2 separate regions of the Homo sapiens genome follow, and region 1 is linked to region 2. Evidence: promoter capture Hi-C in 16 types of primary human blood cells and fetal thymus (Javierre and others, 2016). All regions are on one chromosome and are shown on one strand. Each heading gives the region's core, a stretch centred on a gene start or on the middle of the fragment in contact. The rest is flanking DNA. Distances are from core to core; before and after follow the strand shown. Region 1 holds the start of CPNE5 (copine 5). Region 2 holds the start of MTCH1 (mitochondrial carrier 1).

What was found. Contacts are between HindIII fragments. The CHiCAGO score rates a contact against its expected background, and 5 or more counts as called.
Region 1: the fragment with the promoter of CPNE5 here is called in contact with the fragment with the promoter of MTCH1 in region 2 in 15 of 17 cell types (activated CD4 T cells, fetal thymus, monocytes and 12 more); the score reaches 10.8 in activated CD4 T cells.

Annotation. Positions count from the first base shown.
Region 1 is chr6:36,836,572-36,840,960 of GRCh38, reverse strand. It overlaps CPNE5 (copine 5), which reads left to right and starts at 1,517. Exons shown (of 21, transcript NM_020939.2): 1 at 1,517-1,678. The coding sequence starts at 1,584. RefSeq lists an enhancer at 1-159 and a silencer at 844-1,053. The HindIII fragment of the contact is 11,867 bases long and covers 4-4,389 here.
Region 2 is chr6:36,984,843-36,988,756 of GRCh38, reverse strand. MTCH1 (mitochondrial carrier 1) reads left to right here and starts at 2,561. Exons shown (of 12, transcript NM_001271641.2): 1 at 2,561-2,904. The coding sequence starts at 2,584. RefSeq lists enhancers at 1,957-2,166, 2,285-3,007 and a silencer at 2,257-2,846. The HindIII fragment of the contact is 16,171 bases long and covers 1-3,914 here.

The DNA.
Region 1 (4,389 bases), core at 268-2,767, 150 kb after region 2:
GCTTAGGCTGAGGCTGAGGATGGGCTAGAGTCAAGTCTACGTGTGCAGCCTTACTCAGGGAGACGCCTCTGCGCTGCAACCTCATGCCCGGGAGGGCAAGGCTGGGCTAGGGCGGGGGATCGCGAGGGGCTTGGCTGGGAAGAGGACTGCAGGAGAGGTGTCCCAACTCTCCCCTCGCTCGCCAGGCACACAGCACGCGCCTACTCGGTGCTGGCTGCATAGAAGCCCAGGGAGCTCGGGCCGATCTCCCAGTCTGGTTGCCACCAGACTGGGTGGCAGGAGCTTCTAGACCTGGAGGCTGGCTCAGTCGTGTGGTCACGACGGGCGGGGGAGTGGAAGGGCGCTGGCGCGTGGTTTCGGCAGCCGACTTGGCGAGGCCGCGGCTGGCGGGAACCACGGATGGGGGAGGCGCCCATGCACCGACCCCACCTGGGCCACTGGGAAACCGAGGTAGTCCCTCCTGGCACTGGGGTCGCCCCCACACACCTCCCCAGAAGGAGATGTAGGGTCTGTTTCTGAACTGAGACCCGCCCCCGAGTAGGGCGCACACTCAGCAGAGACCCTCCACACCCAAGCCCCTGGGAGGGGATCTTTTTTGCACACCTCCCTCCCACTTATGCCCCCTCTCAACCCTGCATAGACCTTTCTCAAAAAGGCGCCCGTTGGTTCCCATAACCCTCCCCCTCCCCCAGGATGGAGACCCCTGATGGGAGATAGGGGTGGTGAGAGGGGGCGGGCGCAAATGAAGATGCGCGCGACCAGGACCACCTCTTGCTGTCACCCGCCACGTCCCCAGCATCTGGACCGCGTCCCCCGGCCCGCCACGCGCGCACACACACACACACGCGCACACACACACGCTCACACTCACCCTGCGCGCAGACCCCGCCCGCGGCCCCGCCCCGGCCCCTGCGGGCGCCCCCTCTGGCGTTCCCGGGCGGCGGGAGGCTGCGGCTTCGGGCAGATTTGATTTTCCCGCAGCCCGGGCGCCCCGGAGCCGAAGCCCGAGCCGAGGAGGTGGCGCTCGCAGCCGCGTCTCAGCCCCGTCGCCGCCGGCGCCAAGACCCAGGGAGAGGCGGCGCAGCCCGGGCGCTCGGGCTCCGCGCTGCCGGCGCCCCGCCACCCCCGCCGCCAGCGCCCCATCCGGCGCCTCCCGCTCCTCACGCCCCTCTCCCTGTCTTCTGCATCCCCTCTACCTCTGCCCACAGACGCGCGTCCCTCTCCTGGTGCCCCTCTCCACGACTCCGCGTTTCCCTCCCGGTGCCCTCTCCCCGAGCCCCTCTCCCCGCGCCCCTCTCTGCCTTCCCCGCTGTGCCCCCGCTCCCTGGGCTCCTTGCCCTTCCCCACTGGGCCCCTAGCCTCCTCGCGGCGTCACCCGAGCCCCCTCCTCGATCCGCGGCCCCCGCTCCCTCCGCCCTCTTCCCTCTCTCACTTCCCACGCCCCCTCTTCGCGCTCCTCTCTCCTCCCCTTGCCGCCCAGCCCAGGCTCTGGAGTTGGGGGAGAGCCCAGGGCTCCAGTCGCTCCGGAGGAGGCGTGAATCGCGCAGGGATTGACTAATTTGGGGTGGGGGGTGCGGTGGGCGATGGAGCAGCCTGAGGACATGGCGTCGCTGAGCGAGTTCGACTCCTTGGCGGGCAGCATCCCGGCCACCAAGGTGGAGATCACCGTGTCCTGCAGGTGAGCCTCCCGCTGGCCGGGTCCCCTTGCCCCGGCCCTGGACGCAGAGCCCCGCGGCCCCTGCCGCTTCGATCCTAAACCTCCGCGCGCCCCCTTCCCAGAGTGTCCTGGTCTCCAGGACTGCGCCCCTGCCGATCTGCCAAGAGCCCCTGTCCTGTCCAGCTGCGGGTGGCGACGGCAGAATAGGAAGCCAGGCTGGGGTCATATCCCAGAAAGTTTGCGCTCCAGGCTGTTGCATCGAGGAGATATGAAGACACAGGAACAGGGGGTCCAGGCACCCAAGTGGGGAGAGGGAGTTGGTAAAAGGCTGTACTACGGTCTCTGCTCAGGCTATCTCTGATCACCCCATCCCCAAATCACGAAGTGAGTGATTTGCCCCCATCCCTCCCAGGCTCGTCCACCCTCTCCCTTCTGTGCCCTCCTCTCTTCTCTCTTTGCCCCTTCTTTGCCCCAGCATCCTGATCCTCCCCTCACCAGTCTCCCCCACCCCACTGTCCTAGACTCTAGGATTTTAAAGCCTTCCTTCATCTCTATCAACAACGAAATCGACTCCTGGAAAAGGATCAGATTGACTCATTCATACTAAGGTGTGGATACATGATAACAACTTAAAGTGGCACCATTAAAAAAATAACTTGGGTCAAAAATCTTAAGCCAAAGGAATAGAACACTGATTGTGAAACTGTAGAGTCCAACAGAGGAGGAGGGGGAATATTTTTGTGGGCTACCACGCCCAAATCTTCACTCATGTCACACAGGGTTTGGGGGTAACTTCTCTGTCTAAGAGCTGGGTCGACCCCAGGTTCTCCTAGCTAGGGGAAGGCTGCCCCTGGCAGTAAGAGGGTATGGGTGGCAAAGGGGGATTTTTCCCTAGTTCAGTCTCTCTGTGGCTGGCCTAGGATCATGTGCTGCCACGCAAGCATCACCCACTTTGAGGTTCCCCCACAGAGGCCATGCCCCCTGCCCCAGATCACCGACAGCATTTCTGGAGCCCTGGCTGTGCCCTTGTTCGAAATCACCCATCTCATCCTCTTCCAGGTTGCTCCTTGGTCAGACCCTCCATGAGAGGTAACCTTGTTGCCCCCCAGTCCTGTATTACAAAGTTGTGGCATTGATGAGGTGTAGGTAGAGCTGGAGAGTCTGGGCAGGGGCGTGAAGGAGGGAAGGACTCAGTGTGACTTTCTCTTGAAGACTTGGGGATAAGTGGCAGTGAAGGCTAGTCTGGTTGAACGTAGCTTCCCCCCTAAGCCAGGCCCTCTGGGGGCTCCTGTGATAGCTCCCAGGTCCCATACACCATGCCGTCAGGATCATCTCCCAACGCCATTTGCATCTTGTCATTACTCTGCTGGGAGATTCCTGATGGCCCATTAGCTCCAGTCTCACCTCCTCAGCCATCAAAAGCAGCACGGCCTCCCCACCCTTCTCCTGCACGCACATCCCTGCGCCTGGCACTCCCTCCCAGCCTTCAATCATGCCTGTCATCTTCAGTTGTCTTGGGATCCTTCCCACCTCCAAGCCTCTGAACAGCCCATTCCCCATCCAGATTTCACTCTTCCTTTATCTCCCCAAGTTCATGATCCCCCCACTCCTGAAAAGCCTGGCCTCACGCTCCCCACTTTCAGGCATCCTCTCACCCATGAGACACACAGCTCAAATCATTGTCTTCTGTGTCCCGTGGGCCCTAGGTACTCAGCCTGGGCCACAGGGTCACTCACATACTGAGGATGAAACCTCTTGAGACGTCTCAGGTGTGCAGACGTCATCCCTCCCCTCTCAAAGCAACTGTGTAAGCATTTGAGGGCAGGGATTCCCACCCTGAGTCAGACCCATGCACCCTCTACTCCAGTGGAGAGGAAAGGAGATGGAGGGCAGATAGTGTGGCTTTGGAGTCAGATACCTTGAAACAGAATCTCTGCTTCACCACTTGGGGCAAATTTTAAGCCTCAGTTTCCCCCACCTGTCAGGTACAAACAATAAGCAGCATGTACTCATGGAGAAACCTTGTTCACCAAGGTAGCTCATGTGCTTAGAGCAGTGCCTGGCACTTGCCAAATACTGTTGGAGGAATTAACTTGCAGGAGTGGAGGAGCATGAAGCACCTAGCAAGCTACTTTGCACTTGCTTGGCACACAGTAGGTGCTCAATAAGTAGCTACAATGATCACCGGAAGGCGGTAGCACCTGGCCCCTCCTGTTTGCTTTCTGGAAGTAAAGATGTCCAAAGGACTCAAACCTCTTGCATAAGAGGCCTTCCTGGGGGATGTGGTTCTGGGGCTGACCCTGGGTCAATACCCTTTTGGGGGACATGATCCATGAGCTGAGGAAGGCCCTGACCTGGGGCCTGCTCATGTTCTCCAGAAAGCCAGAGGTGGGGGGAAGTGGGTTTTGGTGGGGAGAGATGAGGAGGGAGCAGTCACTTAGAACAGAGGGGAGGTGAGAAAACAGTCTGGGTGGCCTGGAAATTGTAGATGCATCTCTCTGCCTCAGCCAGGCCCAACTATTCAGGTTCTAGAACAGAGAGAAAGAGGAGGAGGAAAAGGAGGAGGAGAGGAGCACAGGGAGGAGGGAGAAATGCAGACAGTGGCTTTCTCCAGCATATTCTTCACTCCATGGTCGCCAGTTAAAGTCAAGTCCCTCCCCACTGCACCCGCTCTCAGGGCTCCAGGAGAGGAGGCTCTGGGGAGGCTCTGCCCTGGGCATCTGAGTGACACC
Region 2 (3,914 bases), core at 1,312-3,811:
CTCTTATCGTCCAGGCTGGAGTGCAGTGGCGTGATCTCGTCTCACTGCAACCTGTGCCTCCTGGGTTCAACTGATTCTCCTGCCTCAGCCTCCCGAGTAGCTGGGACTGCAGGCATGCGCCACCATGCCCAGCTAATTTTTGTATTTTTAGTAGAGACGGGGTTTCACCATGTTGGCCAGGCTGGTCTCGACCTCAGGTGATCCACCCGCCTCGGCCTCCCAAAGTGCTGAGATTACAGGTGTGAGCCACCGCGCCTGGCCAGAGCTAACTCCTTTATAGCTCTAAAGGTTTATTGCCAGGTTGCTCAGTAGCTTGACTGCTGAGGAAGATTTTCTTTCATTCAATCATTTCAGTGAGTATACTTTTCATTTCTAGATGTTCTGTTTGGCACCTTTTCAAATACACCTGTTTTTTTTTTTCCTTTACAATTCCTGTTCTTTTTACTAGTACTTCCTATTATTTATCTTTGCCTTCATTTGAAACCTACTTCTTTCCTTTTAATTTTCTTTGAGATGGTTCTATTATCTCAAGTTCTTCCTGTTTTGCCCATTCTCTCTCATGATGGCACGTTTCTTTGAGCGGCTCATACATTTTTTATTGTGAGGATTCTTTTTTTCTTCCTCTTGGAGTCTCTGTGAGCCCTGAGTTGTAGAAATACAGCTATTGTGCAGTTTAACATTTGCTTCTGCTTGGTACCCTACGGGTCTAACTGGTTTAGCTGATCTATTTTTCCTTCAATTTCTTCACTTGGAGAAATTGTTCGATCATTTAGAAATACTTTACTGAACATGTACTATGTGCATAGTCCTATATCTGATGTTGTGGAAGATACAAAACAATGCAAGACAACACAAAGTTGCTGCTTCACATGAAACTACAGTTTGAAAGGGCCAAATACAGTATAGGCCCAAAGTTAGGTGACCATGTAAGGCAGAGTAAAAGGCTCAACGGTGAACAGCCAAGTTCAGAAAGAAAAACAGACAGTTGGAGAAAAATGGGGACGAAAAGCCCAAAGAAGGAAAAGGTTCCTGTGAGGAAGTTTCAGAAGGATGGGGAAGTAAATCATCCTCCCCTACCCCCACCCCCCACCCCCAAACTAAAACCTATCGCCTCTTCTGGGTAGAGAGTTAGTGTGGCACTAGGAACTTGACTTTGAGGTCCTTATTGAGAAAGCTAAATCAGAACCTAGGCAAAAGGAAGTCATTTAAGGTGCTCCTGGGGGATGTTTGATGAAAATTGTGTTTGATGGAGAAAACACAGCAAGTTGAAAGGGTTAGCAGGCTTTGCAAGTGATTTCACTAGGACAAGCCTGGGTTAGGGAGGCCAAGGTGAGGGAGAGAGGGAGTGTGGCATGCTTTGAACGTGGAAAGTACATAGTGTTCATTATCAGGAGTGGGAAGAGGGGAGGTAGCTTTTTAGGGGGTAAGGCAGGAAGGGAGTTAGAAAGGACAGACTGGGAAACCCGGACTAACAGTGGCAGGTGTCGATCTAAAGAAATTTCTCACAATGAACTGGCTATAGACTAAGTACAGACAAAGGGACCAGGTCTTCCATTGCTGTGTCCCTGCACACTCTAGGATCCGTTCAAACAGAAACTTTTATTGCGAACCCCCAAAACTAGCACGGTTCTGTTGTAGGTGTTGTTGCAGAGTGTCGGGCACGTTTACAAACAGGAACAGGGCACTTGCTGTCCTATCTTCCTCGCAGGGTTCTTGTGACGATTACACTTAAATCAACACGTATAAAGCATTTTAAAAAGTGCCTGTCACATAGTCCCTGCAATTTAAGGTCTAGTTGTGATTATTCACTTGTATTAACTAAGAATCAACTACAGGCGCCTAGCAGTGCCTGCATGTGCTCACACTGAGGCACTCACTAAAACCCTCAGGATCTAGTGAGGGAGACAGTCAAATACTTTAGAGCAAAACAAATTTTACAACCACGGACTCTGAGGAAGGCGTGCGAAGGCTCCACAGCTGGGGAGGGTGCCCACAGTCGCCGAGGGGACATCTGGATTTGCTCTGGTTGGGAGAGCATTCCTGGCAGAGGAGATGGAAAATGCGATCGGACAAAGAGGCTGGGACCGCGGAGGGGATCGGGCTCGGGGTCGGGGCTCGTCCTGCAGCAGGAGATTCAGCTCGCGCAGAGTTCCACGCAGGCCGCGGCGACTGGGATCTGGGCCGCAAAGGGGCGGGCAGAGAACTGCAGAGAAAACTCCCGAAGCCAGGGAGGTGGCTTGGAAGCGCCTCAGACCATATTGGGGACGTCTGGCAGCCAGAGGCGCCGAACCCCGCCCCCGCGTGCTCTGGGCATCCCGGGGGAGCGCCCCGGCCTGCGGCTGCCGCCACAGCTCCCGAGCCCGGGGCCCCGGCTGCCCGCCACCATTGACCCCCGGCCCGCAGCCCAGTGTCCTGCTAGGCCTCCAACCGGCCGGGGAGCCACATCCGGCGTGTCCCACCCGCCGCACCACGCTCCCGAGCTCCCCCGCGGCCTGGAGTGGTGCGCCCCGGCCCCGCCCCCTGACGCCGGTGAGGGGGCGTGGCCCCGTCACGTGACGGGGAGTGACCTCGCCGCCGGGCGCCATGGGAGCTTCGGACCCGGAAGTGGCGCCCTGGGCTCGCGGCGGTGCCGCGGGGATGGCGGGAGCCGGAGCTGGAGCCGGAGCTCGCGGCGGAGCGGCGGCGGGGGTCGAGGCTCGAGCTCGCGATCCACCGCCCGCGCACCGCGCACATCCTCGCCACCCTCGGCCTGCGGCTCAGCCCTCGGCCCGCAGGATGGATGGCGGGTCAGGGGGCCTGGGGTCTGGGGACAACGCCCCGACCACTGAGGCTCTTTTCGTGGCACTGGGCGCGGGCGTGACGGCGCTCAGCCATCCCCTGCTCTACGTGAAGCTGCTCATCCAGGTGGGGGACCAGAGGCGCCGTAGGGAGATGGGAGGCTGATGTGAAGGTGACAGGCCAGGATTTGGAGGATTGGGGCGGGCAGTCAATGGCGACGGATTTGGGGAGAGGGGTGGGGACGGCGGGTTTGGGGGGCCGAGTGGGTGGGATGGGAGGGAAGCCGTGAGGGAGTTGGGAACGCAGGGGTCACGGGTTTTAGGATACAGAAAGGAGACCAAGGGGTTAGAGTAATAACAGATACGGGAGAGGGTGGAAGGAACAAGCGATTTGGGGGAGTGCCAAGGAGGGAGCGATGGGCTGGAAAAACATATTTGGGAGATAAAGGAGTGGGGACGATGGACTTGGGATAGGGAAGGGAGCGAATTTGGGGCGAGGGAAGAAGCAATAGAATTGGGGGAGGGGCAAGAAGTTTGGGTGAAGAGATGGGGAGGAAGGTTGGGGGCCCAGGCAAAGTGTTTAGAGAATGAGGAGCACATAATTGGGGTAGAGGGGAACGGAGGCTCTGGATTTGATAGAGATGGATTTAAAACGTCTTGGGGTGGGGACAAAGTGGGCGCCAGGGCCAGAAATTTAGGAGGGAAAGAAGGACACCAGACTGGGGGTGGACAGAGGAGACGGAGGTCTTGGGTTGCATTGTGATTTAATTTGGTGGGAGAGTGCGAAGGCAAAGACTTTTGCAGGGGAATGCTATCGGTTTACCGGAGATGGGGGCTCTGGATTTGATGGCGACGACGGATTTGGTAGGAGGAGGGGACAGGGTGACGCGTATGGGGGGAGGGGAACAGATAGGGCCAGCATTGGGGGAGGGGAGTGGCAGCGATTTGTCTAGAGAGGGGAGCTAGGAGGAGGCTTTAAGCGGGGAAGGGGGATGACGCATTTGGAGGAGGAAATGGAAGTCATAGTTGGGGTCAGAGAGAGGAATCACAGTGCTTGTATCTGGGCAGATGAGGAGAAGGGGCACGGGAGTATTGAAATTGGGCAGAAGGGACAGTGGAGACATAGGTGGCAGGATA